Linked DNA regions of Homo sapiens: region 1 is linked to region 2. Evidence: promoter capture Hi-C in 16 types of primary human blood cells and fetal thymus (Javierre and others, 2016). All regions are on one chromosome and are shown on one strand. The core of a region is centred on a gene start or on the middle of the fragment in contact, and the rest is flanking DNA. Distances in the headings are between cores, read along the strand shown. Region 1 has its middle 23 kb from the start of CLRN2. Region 2 holds the start of FAM184B (family with sequence similarity 184 member B).

Region 1 (7,054 bases), core at 1,428-3,927, 240 kb after region 2:
GACTCAAGTGATCCTCCTGCCTCAGCCTCCCAAAGTGCTGGGATTATAGGCATAAGCCACTGAACCTGGCCCAAATGTGATAAAATTTTAACATTTGGAGAATCTAGCTAAAGAATATTTAGGAAATTTTTGTACTCTCTTTGCAACTTCCTCTAAGTTTAAGGTTATGTAAAAGTAAAAAGTTAAAAAAATGCCATGGGAATTAAATGTGATTATACAGGTAAAGCAGATAAAGTGTTTAGCACAGTAGCTGGCACGTGGGAAATACTTTCTGCAAGATAGCTGGTATTACAAAATTTATCGGCCAATATACAACCTTCTACTCTTTTCGGTACATCTGTCCATTGTCTATAGCAGGCGTGCCCAAACCCCAGGCCACACAGACTGGGACTGGTCCGTGGCCTGTTAGGAACCAAATAGACTGCACCGCAGGAGATGAGCTGTGGGCCAGCAAGCATTACTGCCTGAACTCCACCTCCTGTCAGATTAGCGGCCACATTAGATTCTCGCAGGAGCGCCAACCCTATTGTGAGTTGTGCATGTGAGGGACCTAGGTTGCACACTCTTTTTAAGAATCTAATGCCTGATCTGAGGTGGAACAGTTTCATCCTGAAACCATCTAACCCCCAACCCCAACACACAATTTTTCCAATTGTGCATCCTTTTACCATATCATCTAGCAATCACACTTCTTGACATTTATCCAAAGAAGTTGAAAACTTATGACCGCAAAAAAAACTTATGACCACTGCAACCTCCCTGGTGCCAAAAAGGCAGGGGACCGCTGGTCTAAAGAACACATGGGCTTCATCTCTCCTTCCACACTCTGCTTGTCTCCATTTCTGCCTTTGCCTGGCATGCACCCTGTAACCCTCCTGGCCAGCATGAAACATTTTTAGTTGAGCTCTAGTTCCTTTCCCAAGAAACTTTATTCACTAATCCCTATACCAACCTCTTCTTTCCTGAACTTCTGTAAATCCAATTACTAATATAAAAAGTAAGCATTGGCTTATTATCTGTCATAGGTGATTTTTTTTCTTTGTAAGAAGAAAATGGTGAAATACCATACACACCCATTAGAATGGCCAAAATCCAGAAGAGAGATGACACCAAATACTGGTGAGGATGTGGAGCAACAGGAACTCTCATTCATTGCTGGTGGGAATGCAAAATGGTACAGCCACTTTGAAAGACAGTTTGGCAGTTTCTTAAAAAACTAAGATCCTTTTACCATATCATCTAGCAATCACACTTCTTGACATTTATCCAAAGAAGTTGAAAACTTATGACCACAAAAAAACCTGCACAAGGATGTTTATAGCAGCTTTATTCATAATTACTAAAGCTTGGAGGAAAGCAATATGTTCTTCAGTAGATAAATAGATAAATAAACTTTGGTACACACAGACAATGGAATATTATTCAGTGCTAAAAAGAAATGAGCTATCAAGGTACTAAGACATGGAAGAAACATAAATACATTTTACTAAATGAAGGAAGCCAGTCTGAAAAGGCTACACACTGTATAGATACATATATAGGTACATACACACATACTGTACCTACATATGTATAGATATTGCAAAATTCCAACTGGCACATTACAGGCATTAGCCACCACACCTGGCCTATTTTCTAAATAATTTAGGAACAGTTTCTGGGTGCTTAACATCTGTCAAAGAGCAAAAGCCCTAGAAAGATTCCTGTCCTGGCTGGGCGCAGTGGCTCATGCCTGTAATCCCAGCACTTTGGGAGGTTGAGGTGGGCGGATCACCTGAGGTTTGGAGTTTGAGACCAGCCTGACCAAAATAGAGAAACCCCATCTCTACTAAAAATACAAAATTAGCCAGGCGTGGTGGCTCATGCCTGTAATCCCAGCTACTCAGGAGGCTGAGGCAGAAGAATCACTTGAACCCAGGGGGTGGAGGTTGCAGTGAGCCGAGATCGTGCCATTGCACTCCAGCCTGGGCAACAAGAGCGAAACTCTGTAAAAAAAAAAAAAAAAAATCCTGTCCTCATAGAGATGACATTCTCATGGAGAAAGACAGGCAGTATACAGTAAGTATAACACAAATATCAATTATCTAGCATGTTAAAGATAAGCAAAAAGAAAACGTCGAGCAGGGTAGTAAAGATGAACAATAGTGGTAAGGTATAAGGCAGGCTTCACTATTAAACTGGGTTTAATTTGAGGCGAGACTCAAGTTCACAACGCAACCTCAAACCTCCTGAGAAGTCAATTCCCAAAATAGATGGGAAGGCAATTCCTAAAGTTGTGAGAGATGATGTAATCATTTACTTTGTGAGTAAGTGTCTTTTTGCCCTGACAAAGCTTAGAATTAAGTACAAAAATACTTAAAAGAAGCAAAATCAAGGTATTGATATTTTTGATTTTAAAATTTGTACTTCCTTATTATTTTATGTATTGGTGATGAAAGAGAAGCTGGTCTGCTGGTGAAACAGGACAGCCGTATATTTCTAATGATTTGGAATCATGTTTTGCTTATTTATATACAGGGCTGGAATTTTTTTTTTTTTTTTTTTGAGACAGAGTCTCGCCCTGTCGCCCAGGCTAGAGTGCAGTGGTGTGATCTCGGCTGACTGCAACCTCCGCCTCCCAGGTTCAAACAATTCTCCTGCCTCAGCCTCCCGAGTAGCCGGGATTACAGGCGCCTGCCACCACACTCAGCCTTTTTTTTTTTTTTTTTTTTTTTTGTATTTTTAGTAGAGACATGGTTTCACCATGTTGGCTAGGCTGGTCTCAAACTCCTGACCTCGTGATCCGCCCTCCTTGGCCTCCCGAAGTGCTGGGATTACACGCTTGAGCCACTGCACCCAGCCAGAATTTTTAAGATAACTTAAGGTTCACAGCATTTTAACTTTAATTCATTAGACTTAGAAGAATTATTAAATTTTGTCAGTTAATTGAAGTGCATGGAAAATAAATTAAGTTACATAGGCTGTTTCAAGATGTTTATTTAGTACATTCATAAAGGGGACCAAATGGTAAACCAAAGCTTTTAAAAAGAGATCACTAAAATTTGCTAACCTAAAAAACAGAACAATAATATTTATAAGCTTAACTTCAATTTAAGGAGAAACAAATTTTGTGAATGTATAACTTTAATAAATGGAATATTACCTATTTCAATGTATTATTATTATTATTTTCATTTTTGCTGAAAGGCATACAACGTGCTATGTAAAGGGAACTTGAAAAAGTCATGCATTCCCATTCTTTACTTTCTGAAGTAACTAACAGTGTTTTTGCCACAGTTTTGTAAATTCTAACTAACTTGTTAAAGTTTGCCATAGTGATGACTGAGAAAAGAGACGAGGCCTTCATGATGAGGGCTTTAAAGAAACAAAGGCATACTTACAAAACAAGATTTAAAACATCACGATTAATTAATTTTCAAGAAAATTGTTTTCATTACAAGGAATAACCTACTACAGCAAAACCCTGAAGGGTGGGCCTTTAAAATGGTTCAGCTGACTACTCACCATAGGAACACTACTTTTCAAAACTAAAGTAAAATTTTGAGTAGTTTGTTTTGGAGTCAGAAATCACCATTACTGACATAGTTAATAAACAGCTGGTATATCAGGAGCCACCTCTCAGGTGGGCCACTTAAGCTGTGGTACCCAGGGAAGCTTCAACAAGAGTAGACAGAATGACTCGAGGATGGCTCATTTCTCTCTTCAACAGTGCTGAGAACTTTTTTCCTTTCTTTTTTTTTTTAAATATATTTTTATAGAGATGGGGTCTCCCTATGTTGCCCAGGCTGGTCTCAAACTCCTGGGCTCAACTGATCCTCTTGCCTCGGCCTCCCAAAGTGCTGGGATTATATTAATAGACAAACATCTCCTTTTCAATAGAAAGAATCCTTTTGTCCTATTCACTCCCTCCTGCCTCCTACCGCACGGTGGCATAAGCCACCACACCTGGTCTGGTGCTGAGAACTTCTGTGGGCCTCTTACAAACATCTCTCTCTCTCTCTTTTTTTTTTTTTTTTTGATAGAGTCTCACTCTGTTGCCCAAGCTGGAGTACAGTGGTGTGATCTCGACTCACTGAAACCTCTGTCTCCCAGGTTCCAGTGATTCTCCTGCCTCAGCCTCCCGGGTAGCTGGGATTACAGGCACGAACTACCACGCCTGGCTAATTTTTGTATTTTTAGTAGAGACGGGCTTTCACCATGTTAGCCAGGCTGGTCTCGAACTCCTGAGCCTCAGCCTCCCAAAGTACTAGGATTACAAGTGTGTGCGCCTGGCCACATCCCCTTTTCAATAGAAAGAATTCTTTTTGTCCTCTTCACTCCCTCCTTCCTCCTACTCCCTTGAAATCTGTAAGGTTGAGAGAATTGTTATGTTAGAAGAAAAAAATGTATTATATACAATTTATTGTTCCGCAAGAGGTCAATGACAAAAGAAAAATCACTGTGGTTCCAAAGTCATTTGTTAGTGTTGCTTATTATTTTTTCCAAAACAGAAAGCAATAAAGCAAACAATTACATGCCATGTTTTTACATTTGTTTTATTTAACCAAGAACTCAGCCGCGAACATCAGAGAAATGCATATACAATATATTCAGAATATAGTTGAATTGGTGGTTGAAATCCTCACAATATTAAATTGTCAGTGCATGTAACAGCATCTCCAATCACACTGGTAGTCAACTATTACCAAATAGCATTCATGAAAATGCCTAGCTTAGTGCCCGGCATATAGTTAGGTGCTTTATTCACTATAAATCTGGATATATTATATAGCATTAAAAGTCATAACATTTTAGAGAGGGAAAGAAAATTAGAGATTATCTTACGCGACTTGGTTATATTATAAATGAGAAAGCTGTGTTTCTAATTCTTTAACTTGTGAATAAATGTAATGAATAAATGTGAATCTGAAAGAGTCAATCCTTCAACATGGATCCTGAGTGGCTAACTGGGCCTAAGTTTTGAATACAGCCAAGGAGCCATTTGCTTATTAGAGGTCAAACATACACTCTGAGTTCCCCGCAAACCCACACCCTTTTAACTTGGAGACTTTCAGGTCTCACCTGAACCAACCAATCAGAGCTCACCGGCCTTGGCCAATCAGGACTCAGCTATATAAACCAATCAGGGTGCAGCTCTACCAACCAATCAGAACTCAGCTGTGTTGGTCAATCAGAGCTAAGAAAGTTTGAATCCTTTATTTTCATAAGCAGACCTGATTGGGAAGCTGGGGTGGACGTTTTGCTATAAACCTGAACCCTCTCTTTGTTCTCTGGAATGCACTTTTGTTTTACACTGAAGCTGTTTCCTCAGTTTGCAAACTGTTCACTGGAATAAAGTCTCTTTCCTCCAAATTCCTTTTCAGAGAACTTGTGTTCACAAACTGAAGGCTGCATCTCCTCAGTTTACAAACTGTGTCTCCTTGGTTTGCAAGGCTGGGAATAGGGTAGGCACCTACTTCAAATCCTTATACGTTAGGCTAGGTACATCCTTGAAAATCACACGGGTAGAAGGAGGCTGCATCTCTCTGGTTTTCAAACTGTTCATTGGAATAAAGTCTCTTTCCTCCATATTTCTTTTCAGAGAACTTTTGTTCAAAAACCCAAAAACTGGTAATAAGAGCAACTACGTCTCAGAATTTTTATGAGAATGAAAATGAAACAATGCATGTGGGGAAATTAGTAGAAAGCCTAGCATATGGCAAACGCTCTGTTATTGATTGGCCTTATTTTTGTCAAGCTGTGACTATTGCTGACTCATGATTGACACTGCCGTAGAAAAGAAAGTAAGAAACAGAGAGCAGACAACCTAATTTATCTGGCAAGGATTTCATGTGTGTCCTAGTTGCATAGGTTTGTTAAGAAGCTCTACTCTTGGTTTCACAACCCAAACTACCAAAACAAAAGGAAACGAAGAATCATGAGGAAATGAATAGGAGAAATCTTTCACCTGTAGAAATTCATCTAAAATGGGCTCAGGAAGCCGGGCATGGTAGCTCATGCCTGTAATACCAGCAATTTGGGATGCTGAGGTGGGCGGATCATTTGAGGTCAGGAGTTCAAGACCAGCCTGGCCAACATGGTGAAATCCCGTCTCTACAAAGAAATACAGAAAAAAAAAAATTAGCTGGGCATGGTGGTACATGTCTGTGGTCCCAGCTACTTGGGAGGCTGAGGCAAGAGGATTGCTTGAATTCGGGAGATGGAGGTTGCAGTGAGCCAAGATCACACCACTGCACTCCAGCGTGGGTGGCAGAGTGAGACTCCATCTCAAAAAGAAATTAAAATAAAATAAAATAATAAAATAAAATAAAATAAAAACAAAATAAATAAATAAAATGGGCTCAGTAACTTCTCTGAGTTGCTGTGTCCCTCTCCAGTATCACATCAGGAAATCACATTTCACATTTCACCTTTGAGATTCCCTGTGTCTTGCGTAGCCTCCTTCCCCTCTATGACTTCCAGCGATGAACCTGGCTTAATATTTAAGTACTGGAAGTAGGTTAGCACTTCATTCCCAGCAAGTATTTTCTTTTTTCTTTTTTTTTGAGATGGAGTCTTTCTCTGTCACCAGGCTGGAGTGCAGAGGGCGTGATCTCGGCTCACTGCAACCTCAGTCCCCGGGTTCAAACTATTATCCTATCTCAGCCTCCTGAGTAGCTGGGACTACAGGCATGCGCCACCATGCCCAGTTAATTTTTGTATTTTTAGTAGAGATGGGGTTTCACCATCTTGGCCAGGATGGTCTTGATCTCTTGACCTCGTGATCCACCCACCTTGGCTTCCCAAAGTCCTGGATTACAGGCGTGAGCCACAGCGCCCAGCCCCAGCAAGTATTTTCTAAATTGTGATGCTAATCTATTAATAATGATTAATAATTAATACTTTTGTTCATGAGTTTTATATCTAAACATTATGTTCTTTTCATGAATATTGTTAGAACAAGAAATACTGGCATTGAGTAACATTGTTGTGGTGGGTGGAAATCTGTTCCCCAAAGTTGTCTTGGATTATCTGGGTGGACCAAGTATAATCACAAGGGTTCTTTTAAGAGAGA
Region 2 (6,488 bases), core at 1,923-4,422:
AAAGAAAAGGCAAATCAATTATGATTTTAAATTTTTCTGACCAAGCACAGTGGCTCACACCTGTAATCCCAGCACTTTTGGGAGGCCGAGGTGGGAAGATCACTTGAAGCTAGGAGTTCAACACCAGCCTGGACATCATAGTGAGACCTTGTTTCTATTTTAAAAAATAAGAATTTTTAAAAGAAAAATATCATATTGCCAGCATTGTGCTCTGGGAAGCTTATATTTGTAATCTAAAGACAAATCAATTGGAAAGAATATCACCTTTGAGGTCAGATAGACCCAGATCCATTCACTAGCTGTATACAGTTGGGGACTCAACCTGCCTTAGCTTCACTTTCCTAGTCTGTAGAATGAGAATGACAATAAGTACCTCAGAGAAGGTCAAAACATGTGCTACGGGCTTAGCACAGTGCCAATATGACATTAGTGGCCTAATAAATGTACTTCCACCTCCACATTTGATATAGTACTTAATTCTCTTCTGCCCTCAATTTCATTCCTGATGGTGTAAAGGGACCTACTAATCCCAGTGCTGGAAAATCCTAGGAGCTGCAGAGGGCTCTCCAAAACAGGTCGGCTCATGGTGCCTTGATTACAGCAGCTGTGGGCCAACAAAGCTGATAAAGGAATCTGATTTTCCCGTTGTCTTCCATTGTAAAGTTGAAAGTATAATATTTCCTACTGGAACATTTTTTAGCCCCAAGACCTAATGAAATCATTATTAAAAAACTAAAACTTGGGGTTAGACTTGCAGTTTTTCTAAACTTTAGTGTGTATAAGATCATCTAGAGCAATGGCTTTCAATTCTTTTCAGATCCAACATCACCCTTTTTATAACATCCACGTTACTATCTTGAAATTCATAGATAATACACACCTTTTTAAATCTGCATAATTTCTTGACTTTGATTTTTTTGACATTTGATTCTTGATATTTCATTATAATTAAATAATATGTACAGTTGGCCCTCCATATCAATGTGTTCCACATCCTCAAAGTCAACTAACCACAAGTCAAAAACATTTGAGGAAAAAAAATTGATGGTTGCATCTGTACTGTATACATATACAGCCTATTTTTTTATTCCCTAAACAATACAGTGTAACAACTAATTACATAACATTTACGTTGTATTAGGTATTACAAGTAATATAGAGATGATTTAATGCATACGAGAGGATGTGAGTAGGTTATATGCAAACGTTACACCATTTTATGTAAGTGACTTGAACATCCATGGATTTTGGTATCTGAAGGGGTACTGGAACCAATCCCCTGTTGATACTGAGGGACACAGTGTAGTAATCAGATGCTTGCATAGGTAGACTCACCATCAATATGGCAGTTAGAAGTGTGTTGTGGCCAGGCACGGTGGCTCACACCTGTAATTCCAGTACTTTGGGAGGCCTAGGTGGGAGGATCACTCAAGGCCAGGAATTTGAGACCAACTTGGCCAACATGGAGAAACCCCATCTCTACTAAAAATGCAAAAATTAGTCGGGCGTGGTGGTGCATGCCTGTTATCCCAGCTACTCTGGAGGCTGAGGCACAAGAATGGCTTAAACTCAGGAAGTAGAAGTTGCAGTAAGCCGAGATCATGCCACTGCACTCCAGCCTGGGTGACAGAGCAAAACTCTGTCTCAAAAAAATAAAAAAAATAAATAAATAAGTGTGTTGTATTGGCAACCAAATATCATGAGCCACCTGGCCCTTGATGTGATTTTCCAAAATGGTCAACAACTTTTAGTAAAGTTCTTGACCAAAAAGGCTAATTTTCCTCTAGTTTACACAGTGGTTGAATTCCTGTAAAATTTAGTATATATTAAGATCCTGCAGAAAATATTCTAAATACACAATTTGGAATTAAGCAGAGAGCTGTTTAATGTGGATTCCTGACCCCCTGACCCCCATCCTCAGAGGCTTTGTCTCTGTTTTCTAAAGGAACTGGGGGAGGGAGGGGTTGTGCTAAAAAGAGAACTTAAGATGGTAAATTAGAAATCAAAAACCGAGGCCGGTCATTTGATACAGAATCTAGAATAGGAATGTCTATTTCAGAAACAGTTCTACTTGTAATTGCCTGACTTGGTACAAATTTTCTGGGTCAATTTTCCTCATCGACAAAAATGGGTTTTGTTACCTTCAGTATGGATGGGTGGAACTGTGGTTTCTGAGACCCTTTGAAGCTTGCTTGGTTTATGAAGATTATTAAAATTTCTGATAAAAGGCAATGTATAAATGATATACATTCACTATGCAAACTATCATGAAGACCTATTATTCGAGCTTTAGGAAAAGCTGATCACGGTGCTGTCACTTTCCCTTAAAGTCCACTGTCTGAAACCAGAGAACACGCCAGAAAGAAATTTGGCCCGCTAACCTCTCCCCTCACCAAACACTAAACAGACACCAGCTCAGAATCCGAAAACTTGACAGTCTGGCTCCAGTCTGCCCAAGGCCAGTAGTGTGGATTTGGACGACTCACTTTACTTTCAATGGGCTCGGTTTGCTAAGATTTTCAGTTCCATCTTTTACTCATCTAACTGCTCCATTCCTCTTTGCTTCTTCCTTTCCCGCACCTGCCACCATCCTTTCTACCTCCCTAACGACTTTGTCTTTGCGTTCCTACCGCTTCCCGCATTACCCGTTTCGCACTTTCTCATCTCAGATTTCGGTCACCCGCACCCTGCCATCCCCTTGGCTTCTCCTCTTTGGGCATCTCCGGTATTCCTCCCGCAATGTCCTGGCTCCTCTCCAAGATCCAAAAAGGAAGGCTACCATCCCCAGCCCCGCTGTGCACTCGCGCAACTCAGGCGCTGGCCCACACCGTGCGCCCCGGATCCCACACCTCCTTGAGTCCCGATGGCTCGCCCTCACCTACCCGCCCCTCTCTTAGCATCTCGTCCCCCACCGCCATCTCCGCTATCAGCTCGGAGACTCGGGAGCCGCCAGTCACTGTGCCCTGTCCCTCTCCGGAGGCCGCCAGTCACTGTGCCCTGTCCCTCTCCGGAGGCTCTTCTTCCTCTTTAGCCTGGGATCCCCACCTCGGGCAGGGTCCGTCGCCACCAAGTCCAGGGCCGCGCGCCACCCACGTGTCCAAGAGCGCAGTGCCCGCCCACCGCAAACCCCCCAAGGCCGGCAGCTCCTAGCCGCGGAAGCTCTCCCCTTGCACACGAAACCTGCACTGGCTGGGGAACTGCAGACTGATCGCCAGCGGCACGTGCGGGGCGCCGACGCCTCGCCGCAGGGTGCGGGTGCCCGCGGAGCCAGCCAGCCAGAGAACCAGCAGGAGAGGAAAAAGGGTGGGCGCGCGGGTGGGCCCGGGAGGCGGAGACCTTCGGGAAGCTGGGGCCACGCGGCGGTGCAGGCGACGGGACTGCAGTGCCACCTCTCCCGAGAAACCCACACGCTCGCACGCCCGCGCGCGCACGCACGTGCACACGGTGGGCAGGGAGAAAACGAGAGAGTCTGAGTGCTGGGCGCGTTTTAGCGATGGCTTCTGCTCTCAACAGCAAAATTAACCCGCCCGGCACTTGCCAGGGCTCCAAAGCCGACGGTGGCGCCGGCTGGAGAATGGACTGTGATCCCCAGATGCACGTGAAAATGTGCAAGAAGATCGCCCAGCTCACCAAGGTAAGGTGGGGCGCAGCGGGCCAGCGAGCTGCACGCCCGGGGCGCCCGAGCCGGGAGTCAGTGCGGATGCGCCTCCCGGGAGGCCCGGGCCAAATCCAGACAGAAACTTTGTCTCGGAGGCCAACCGGGAAGGGAAGCGGTCCTAAATCTGGGTGACTTGACCTTCTAGAGGCACCATCCTAAAGCAGCAGAGAAAGAGGATCCTTGCCAAGGAAACTCCCACAGCCTGCTGGCTGGGCAGGTGGTCTGTGCTTTTCCAAGGTGGGAATGTGAATCGTGTGTGTGTGTGTGTCCCCGCCAGCTTTGCTCAAGTGCCTAGAATGTTGTGATTTCATTCAACTGCCATACTTTACAGCTGGGGAGGTCATGTGGGCTCTATTTAAACACTTGATCCATTTATTCCTTCATTCAACAAATATTTGCGTCATTTGTTGAGTGCCAGCAGCTTGCGTGGCACCGTACTAAACCTGGAATGCAGCCTAGGGGACTTACTATCAAACTGGGTGCAGACGTGTGTAGGAGCATAAATGGGGAAGAGCACGATTCACCAAATAACTATGGGATTAGGAAGGACCTAGGGAAGTCAGCCAGCCCACCTCCTTACCTCGTGCAGGGGGCTCTGATTGAACCTTCCCAGACTATGTCTTTTTCAAGAAGACCAGCAAAAAGATGCCACCAGTGCTCTTTGTTAACCCTCTGCAGCTCCCCAATTAGAAGCTCCTTGTCACAGACTCCCCTCTGTGCCTTGTCTAGATGGAAAACAACATCCCTCACTGTCTCCTATACAAGGTTTCAAGTGGATGAATTTAGCTGTTTGCCTTGGGGTTTCCTTTCGGTCTCATAATAAACTCCTGGTGCCATGCCCGCCAGGGAGAGGTCAGGTCCAGGTCTGTCCTGTAGCGTCTGGAACATGCTCTCTTTCCTCACCATCTCCCTCTCACTTCCCACACATTTTTTTGTGGGATCACAGACATTCCCCTCCCCCTGTCCCGCCAACCTCACTATTTTGCCAGGAGGAATAGAGCACAGGGGCTTGGAATTGAACACTAGCCGCCTTCTCCCACCTGTCTCATTAACTTCACATTCTTTGCACGTGAGCCTGTCTCCAAACAGGGCTCTCTTTGGTCAAGGAATGAAAAAAGAGACTGGAGATAGCCCTTAGCGTTCTTGACATGTATAGCTGGTACTATTGATCTAACCTACATTCATGTAAATAGTGACATCAACCAAAACATGTATTTATTCAAGTACCTGAAAAGGCACTTGGCACAGTGCAAGGCATCTTCTCTATCTTCAAAGAATCTAAAATAGTTTTAAAGAAACAAGATTTGAAATATTGAGTGAAAGCTAGAAGACTATACTATGTCTTGGGTGCTAAATTGGGTGTTTCCAATTACGAGTGCTATAGAAGTAGAAACAAAGGACAAATCAGTATGGGAGGAACAGTGAGGGGAGATTTTATGGAAGAGATGATCCTTGAATTCAGTGTGGACTTATGGAATTCCTACTATGTGCCAGCTGCTATGCTGAATGTTGATGGCATAACAATTAGTAAGATATGGTCTTGCCCTTGTGGTATGACAAACACATAAACAGATCATTTCAATATAAAATAGCAATCATTCCACTCATTAATATTTATGGCACACCTATTATGTGCCAAGCACTGAAAACACAGCAGTATAGAAGGCATACATGATTCTTGGCACACAGTAGGCAGTGTTTCTTAAAGTATATTCTGCATTAGAAATCGCAATTGATCCTTATGTAGTGCGTCTGTTTACCATTTTTATGCTAATTGCTTAAATTAGAAGTTTTTGTTATTAATAGGCCACCATTCTTTTGGCTACTATTTGTATGTGAAATATTGTCCTTCATATTTAATCTTTCTATGAGTTTTATTTTGGTTGTGTCTCTGACAGATGAATTTAATCCACAGGGATTTATTGCGATTACTAATATATTTGGGCTCTTCTTCCATCAGATCTTGTGTTTTTCATTTACCATTCTTTCTCCTTGCTTCTTTTTCTTCCATTCTTGCCTTCTATCAGATTAGTAAAGTGATACATATTCCACTGCTGGTTTGAGAGCTTTAGGTTTTATTTCTATTCTTCTCAGAATCGTCTTTTATTTTTTCAACATACATACTTAACTCTGATTTTTTTGCTAACAAAGTTAGTATGTAATTGTTTCTTCCCATGAAAGAACTTTGTATATTTTACTCATTTAACAGCCCCTTCCTTCCCATCTTTTTATTGCTGCCTAGAGTTTTATTTTTACTTTTTTGTTCGTTTGTTTAAGAGACAGGGTCTTGCTCTGTTACCCAGGCTGGAGTGTAGTGGCACAGTCATGGCTGACTGGAGCCTCAAGCTCCTGGCCTCAAGCAATCCTCCCACCTCAGACTCCCAAGTAGCTAGGAACAGGTCCACACCACCACCCCCAGCTAATATTTTCTTTTTCAAAAATTTTTTGTAGAAATAGAGTCTCACCATGTTGCCCAAGCTGGTCTCGAACTCCTGGCTTCAAGCAATCCTCCCGCCTCAACCTTCCAAAGCTCAGGCATGTGCCACCGCATTCAATCTGTTTTTACTTCTTAAATTTAAAAATAGTTTTTATAGTTAAAAGTTAATTAAATTTATGACATTTTATCAATTTTTCTGCTATTTCTTTTTCTTGAATCTACAGTGTTCCCTTTGGGTTCACTTTTCTTCTGGCTGAAGTCCATCCTTTAATAGTTCTTTCTGTAGGTGCCTTGGTATGGGAGGGAATTCATTGTTGGAAATGTCTTAATTTTGCCCTCACTGTTGTATGATGATTTATTTGGATATAAAATTCTAGTGAACAGTTATTTTCC

Evidence for each region. The method cuts DNA at HindIII sites, captures the fragments that hold promoters and counts their contacts. A CHiCAGO score of 5 or more calls a contact.
Region 1: a contact is called between a fragment that was not itself captured here and the fragment with the promoter of FAM184B in region 2, in 1 of 17 cell types (megakaryocytes). The highest score is 5.8, in megakaryocytes.

The regions. Positions count from the first base shown.
Region 1 is chr4:17,534,158-17,541,211 of GRCh38, reverse strand. No RefSeq gene overlaps it. Among named protein-coding and RNA genes, the nearest start is that of CLRN2, 23 kb to the right of the region's middle. The HindIII fragment of the contact is 685 bases long and covers 2,335-3,019 here.
Region 2 is chr4:17,778,305-17,784,792 of GRCh38, reverse strand. It overlaps FAM184B (family with sequence similarity 184 member B), which reads left to right and starts at 3,172. Exons shown (of 18, transcript NM_015688.2): 1 at 3,172-3,634. The coding sequence starts at 3,494. The HindIII fragment of the contact is 8,098 bases long and covers 2,190-6,488 here.